2 separate regions of the Homo sapiens genome follow, and region 1 is linked to region 2. Evidence: promoter capture Hi-C in human tissues and cell types (Jung and others, 2019). All regions are on one chromosome and are shown on one strand. The core of a region is centred on a gene start or on the middle of the fragment in contact, and the rest is flanking DNA. Distances in the headings are between cores, read along the strand shown.

Region 1 (3,454 bases), core at 206-2,705, 880 kb before region 2:
TTTTCTGTCTTAATCAAGAGTTTCAAACGTTCACCCAGTGAGACATAGAGTGAACATCCACACTTGGGATTGGAGAGAGACATTATAAGAGGGTAGCCATTGTAATTATAGTAGCAAATACTACCTACCGGCTTCTAAAAGTGGTGGGATCTTTAGGGGATCTGATTCTTTTGAAATAAATCTCCGAAAGAGACAGCCACTCATTCTGAAATTTTCTCATGGGAGCCTTTAAATCAAACTGATGCTAAAAACAGAGTAACAGAGAAGAATAACCAATTATGACTCATCCAGAGTTTCTTCCCCACTTTTGCTTCTTCGATGTTACCTTTCTTACTCTTCCTTCTTCCTTTCTTTTGTCAGTTCTTTCTTCTTTCATTGTAAACACATAATTATTGAATTTATTTAAAATTTGGATATTCAGCAGAAATTTGGAACTATAGGAGTGAGTAAAATAAGTTTTCTTTTATCATGGAACTAACATTCTAGTGGTAGAGACTGGGATGTCTCTGTCACAAGCATAAAATATGTCAGATAATAACAAGTCCTGTAAAGAAAAGGAAAGCAGGGTCAGGGAACAGAGTGACAGGGGTGGGTTTATTTTAGGTCACGTAATGAGAGAGGGCCTTTTGGAGGAAGTGAATCTTCAAACAGACCTGAATGAAGTGAGGGAGCAACCCACATACAGGCATACCTCGATCGATTGCACTTTGCTTAATTACACTTCACAGATAACGTATATTTTACAAATTGAAGGTTTGTGGCAATCCTGTACCCAAGAAGTTTATTGGCACCATTTTTCTGATAGCATGTGCATACTTTGTGTCTGTGTCACATTTTGGTAGTTCTTGCAATATTTTTAACTTTTTCCTTATTATTATATGTGTCATGGTGATCTATGATCAGTGATCTTAGATGTTACTGTTGTAATTGTTTTGGGGTACCACAAACCATGGCTGTAGAAGACCAGTGAACTTACTGATAGATGTCATGTGTGTTCTGACTGCTTCACTGATCCCGATCTCTCTCTCTCTCCTTGGGTCTCCCTAGTCCCTGAGGGTCAACAATATTGAAATTAAGCCAATTAATAACCCTACAATGGCCTCTAAGTGTTCAAGTGTAAGGAAGAGTCGCAGGTTTCTCACTTTAATTCAAAAGCTAGAAATGGTTAAACTTAGTGAGAAAGGCATGTTGAAAGCCGAAACAGGCTGAAAGGTAGGCCTCTTGTGCCAAACAGTTAGCTAAGTTATGAATGTAAAGGAAAAGTTCTGGAAGGAAATTAGAAGTGCTGCTCCAATGAATACGGGAATGATAAGAATGGGAAACAGCTTTATTGCTGTTATAGAGAAAGGTTGCATGGTCTGGATAGAAGATCCAACTAGCCCCATTATCACTTAAGCCAAAGCCTAATCCAGAGCAAGGTTCTAACTGTCTTTAATTCTGCAAAGACTGAGAGAGAAGAGGAAACTGCAGAAGAAAATCTTGAAGCTAGCAGAGGTGGGTTCATGAGGTTCAAGGAAAGCAACTGTCACCATAACACACAAGTACAAAGTGAAGCAGCAAGTACTGATGGAGAAGCTGTAGCAAGTTATCCAGAAGATCTAGCTAAGGTAATTGATGAAGGGGGCTACACTAAATAGATTTTCAATGTGGGTGAAATAGCCTTTTGTTGGAAAAAGATGCCATCTAGGACTCTCATAGCTAGAGAGGAGAAGTCAATGCCTGGCTTCAAAGCTTCAAAGGACAGGCTGACTCTCTTGTTAGGGACTAATGCAACTGGTGACTTTAAGTTGAAGCCAACTGCTCCTTTACCATTCCCAAAATCCTAGTGCCCTTAAGATTTCTTTAAAAATATTACTGCTCATTGACAGTGCACCTGGTCACCCAAGAGCTCTGATGGAGATGTACAAGGAGATTAATATTGTTTTCGTGCCTGCTAAAACACAGTGTTTATTCTTCAGCCCATGGATCAAGGAGTGATTTCAACTTTCAAGTCTTATTACTGAAGAAATACATTTCATAAAGCTATATCTTCCATAGATAGTGATTCCTCTGATGGATCTGAGCAAAGTAAATTAAAAACCTTCTGGAAAAGATTCACCACTCTAGATGCCATTAAGAACATTTGTGATTCATGGGAGGAAGCCAAAATTTCAACATTAACAGGAGTTTGAAAGAAGTGGATTCCAACCCTTATGGATGACTTTGAGGGGTTCAAGACTTCAGTGGAGGAAGGAACTGCAGATGTGGCGGAAATAGCAAGAGAACTAGAATTAGAAGTGGAGCCTGAAGATGTGACTGGATTGCTGCAATCTCATGATCAAACTTGAACAGATGAGGAGATACTTCTTATGGATGAGCAAAGAAAATGGTTTCTTGAGTTGAAATCTACTCCTGTGAAGAAGCTGTGAACATTGTTGCAATGCCAACAAAGAATTCAGAATATTACATAAACTTAGTAAATAAACCAGTGGCAGGATTAGAGAGGATTGACTCCAATTTTGAAAGAAGTTCTACTGTGGGTAAAATGCTATCAAACAGCATCACATGCTACAGATAAATCTTTTGTGAAAGGAAGAGTCAGTTGATGTTGCAGGCTTTATTGTTGTCTTACTTTAAAAAATTGCCACAGCTTTCCCAACCTTCAGCAGCAACCACCCTGATCTATCAGCAGCCCTCAACATGGAGACAAGACCCTCCACCAGCAAAAAGATGAAGACTCGCTGAAGGCTCAGATGATTGTTAGCCTTTTTAAATTAGCAATAAAGTATTATTTAATTATGTATATATATTTTTTAGGCAGCATGGTATTGCATACTTAGTCTACTAAGTAGACTGCAGTCTAATGTAAACATAACTTTTATATGCACTGGGAAACAAAAATGTTTGTGTGAGTGGCTTTATTGGAATATTTGCTTTATTGCAGTAATCTGGAACCCAGCCCACCGCAGTATCTTCAAGGTGTGCCTGTATATCAGGCAGAGGGAACAGCAGGGTAGATGCTCTGAAACTGGAGCAAACTTGGCCTGGTGAATCGTAAGCTTAAGAAATGAATCCCTAAATTGATACAGAAGTAACCCAACTCTGATTTTATGATTCATGCAAGAAATTCTAGTTTATTGTTTTGTAGTCACAGATTGCTTTTTTTTTTTTTTTTTTTTTTTTTTTTGAGACGGAGTTTCACTCTTGCTGTCCAGGCTGGAGAGCAATGGCACCATCTCGGCTCACTGCAACCTCTGCCTCCAGGGTTCAGGCGATTCTCCTGCCTCAGCCTTCCAGAGTAGCTGGGATTACAGGCATACGCCATCACGCCTGGCTAATTTTGTATTTTAAGTAGAGACGGGGTTCCTTCATGTTGGTCAGGGTGGTCTCGAACTCCTGACCTCAGATGATCTGCCTGCCTCAGCCTCCCAAAGTGCTGGGATTACAGTCATGAGCCACTGCGCCCAGCCCCACA
Region 2 (3,360 bases), core at 792-3,291:
ACCTCAGTCTGTCTTTGTTAAGGGCTCAGCCTTTTTGGATGTGAGTCTGCTGAACCAGTGCACCTAAATAAATCCTCCTGTCTCACCCATATCAGTCTCTCCAGTCCTCTAATTCCTGCAACACTGCCTGTGATTCGATTGAAGTTTGGGTGGTACCTGGCCTCGAAAGACCCCTGTGTCCCAAAGGAGATTTGAGCGGCCCCTCTTTATTTTCACTTCATAGCACAGCCAAGTGTAGCTCCGACCATAGAGGATGGGTTCGTTTTCAAAGTTGTCGTAGAATGTGTCTCGATACATCCGCTCCATCGGATTTCTGAAGGCACAAGAGAGAAACCGGCCCATGCAGGGAGCCCTCCCGGGAGTCCTCGGGGCTCATGTCCACTGAACACAGCTCCCAGGATGGCCCTGGGCCTCCCCGACCCCTCCACAGCCCTGAGAATTTCTGCTGCCTTCCCAGGCAGGAAGACTGAGGGGAGAGGAAGAGGAGGGGATGCTGGCAGGCGGGCTGGGGTGATCTCTCCCAGCTCGGGTCCAACTCTGGCCTTTCCAGGGGTACATTCCCCACCCTCCTAGTATTTCTGCCAACCCACTCCCCAACCCATTAGGAGAATGCAAAAGAGAATAAAACCCTTCACCCCTAAAAAATAGCTTTTAACCTTTCAGCTCAATTCCTTCCTGATGTTTCACTCTGCGTGTTAACATTATTTTAAAATCATGGTAGAACTGAATTCTGAGGCCCAGGCCACTCTTCTAAGTGCTGAGCGGGTGTGAGCTCACGTGAGGCTACCCTAGGCCTGCAGGGGCCATTCCCATCTTACAGAGGAGATGCCAGAGGCACAGAGAGGCGGGGTAACCTGCCGAGGCCACAGAGCTGGGGACGGATGGAGCAGGGGCCCCTTTCCAGGCCAGCCCTGTCCAGCCTCTGCATCACGGATCCTGTAGGAGAAAGCTGTTGGGGACTGGGCTCTCTTTTCACTAAATTTTAAAATCAGAGCATTTCTCCTCATCATTGCACTTTTTTCCCACATTCTCACATTCCATGTTACTGATCATGTTCTTTCTTTTTTTTTTTGATGAAGTCTCACTCTGTCGCCCAGGCTGGAGTGCAGTGGCATGATCTCAGCTCACTGCAACCTCCACCTCCCAGGTTCAAGCAATTCTCCTGCCTAAACCTCCTGAGTATCTGGGACTAGAGATGCGCCACCATGCCTGGCTAATTTTTGTATGTTTTTTAGTAGAGACGGGGTTTCACCATATGGGCCAGGTTGGTCTCAAACTCCCGACCTCATGATCCGCCCGCCTTGGCCTCCCAAAGTGTTGGGATTACAAGTGTGAGCCACCACGCTCAACCACTGGTCATGTTCTAAAAGATGAAGAGTGACCTTGGAGTGGAACCTGTCTGGGGACATCTGCTCACCATGGAGTCATCCTTGGATGACACGATTTATCATGTGCTTCAGAGACCATTCCTACCCCCGCACCCTCTCCTAAGACTTTGTATTTAAGCAAAGTAATTCTTACAGAAATTTCATCAAAACACTGAGAACAAAAATGCCTGATTGCTCCAATTACCCTTTGGTTCAATTCTCCCAGTTTCTGAGCTCAGGAGTGGCAGGAAGCACACAGAGGGAGCACCCTCCCAGGGCGGGGAGCACCAGTCCGGGCATGACTTTAAGGGAGAGTCTCAGCACGGGGCCTGGGCTGGTGCAGGTAGGGGAGGCAGCCCATTCAGAAGCAGCAGTGGGGTGACCACACAGCAGGACAAAGAGCCTGACTGGGATTCGTGTGGCAGGGGAGCCAGAGGGGAGGGAGCCCAGGGCTGGGGCAGGGGCGGGGGGAGGCCAGGGTTGAGGCCCAGCAGGACCACCAGGCAGGAAGGGGCAGGAGGGGCCCAGCAGGCAGAGTGGGCAGCGGTACCTGATCTGTGGATTCATGTTCAGCCTCTTAGATACGCTTGTCCCTGTCCCGCTCTTTTTTTGAAGCTCTGTGGTTTCACTTCCTGCTTACAGCGTCCTTGCAGTTGGACAGCCCTCCTTAAAGTGACCTCCCAGGGCCTTATGAGTCATGGCCCCTCCCCATTCCTGCTCAGGCATTGGTGTGGGAGGCCCCGGGGTGCTTCATGTTTCTCTGGCTCTGGCTCTGGCTCTGGTTTTCCCCGGACCCTTCCCGCTGGCAGAGGAACCTCCAATAAAGACAGGCTGCTCTGTCTTTATCTGTCCTGGGCAGGACCCAACGGAATTGCAAAGAGAAAGAGAAAGGCATTGCAGCCTGAGCCTGGGAGGCGGGTCCAGACCCAGCTGAGAGAGGGGCAGGTGCCCCGTTGCCTGGTGGTTGGGCAGGCTGGAGCCCCCTCTCCACCACCCCCTCCCCAGCCCTAATGTGTGCCCAGAGCTTTGAGCAGCACCACCCTGTTGAGTGAGGGGAGGTTTTGAGACTCCAGTGGGGAAGGAAGTGTGGACTCCGCACAGCACAAGGGAAGGCTTAGGTGTGCCTCGAGTTCCCAGCTGTGTGCTGGGTCCATGGCATGCGTCCCCTCTTCCAACCTCCCAGCTTCCAGAAGGTGGGGGGCAGGTCAGCCCCTCAGAGGGACTGCGATGTCTGCGACACCAAGGAAGGGAGAAGGGTGTCTATAAACAGGCTCACTGCCCAGGGACCTCTCAAGGGGTTCTTTGTGGGCCAAGAAAACGGGAAACACATACACACACAGCTTTCTGATTATTTAAGTCCATCTAAGCATATTTTGGAGGAATGAATGTACATTGAAATAATCTTCCTAAATAGATTCCTTTAAGGGGAGTTTGTTCCAGCTGGAGAAGTTGTGCTCTCTGTAGAGGCTCTGAACTCCTCTGGCTACGACGACGGGAATGCAGACAGGGAGGAGGATGCGTGGGTGGTAGGGGGAGCAGCAGCGCCCCTACCTGCACAGAAGCTTGTCCAACCTCTGCACAAAGCGGACTCCCAGTGGTTGTTTTTGGAAGGTGAGTTTTCTTTTCTTTCTTTTTTTTTTTTTAAATCTTCCCCAGTATAAATCTTTTAATTTAAAAGTAAATTTTATTGTCGAAAATGCAAACTTGGGGAGGGCAGAAAGATCACACACAGGGCTGTCACTTCACACCTGGGGGGTTGCTGGGAGCCGTCCAGAAGCGCTCCTCACTTCCCAGACGGTGCGGGGGCCGTCCAGAGGCGCTCCTCACTTCCCAGACGGTGCGGGGGCTGGGCAGAGGCGCTCCTTACTTCCCAGACGGTGGGACAGCCAGGCAGAGGCGCTCCTCTGGAAGGTGAAGTTTTCTGTTGCCGTCAGAAAGAGATGGACAAAGGATAAGACCATCGGTGGAAAATAAACAGTTCCGTTTATCAGAA

What was found. The method cuts DNA at HindIII sites, captures the fragments that hold promoters and counts their contacts. A contact is called where the count stands out against the background at its distance.
Region 1: a fragment that was not itself captured here is called in contact with the fragment with the promoter of APOBEC3B in region 2 in 1 of the 25 tissues and cell types used here (dorsolateral prefrontal cortex).

The regions. Positions count from the first base shown.
Region 1 is chr22:39,857,156-39,860,609 of GRCh38, reverse strand. All of the region lies in intron 3 of ENTHD1 (ENTH domain containing 1), which reads left to right. Among named protein-coding and RNA genes, the nearest start is that of ENTHD1, 35 kb to the left of the region's middle. The HindIII fragment of the contact is 4,117 bases long and covers 1-3,454 here.
Region 2 is chr22:38,981,028-38,984,387 of GRCh38, reverse strand. APOBEC3B (apolipoprotein B mRNA editing enzyme catalytic subunit 3B) reads right to left here and starts at 2,041. Exons shown (of 8, transcript NM_004900.5): 1 at 1,918-2,041; 2 at 157-313. The coding sequence starts at 1,934. RefSeq lists a silencer at 1,858-1,907. The HindIII fragment of the contact is 18,696 bases long and covers 1-3,360 here.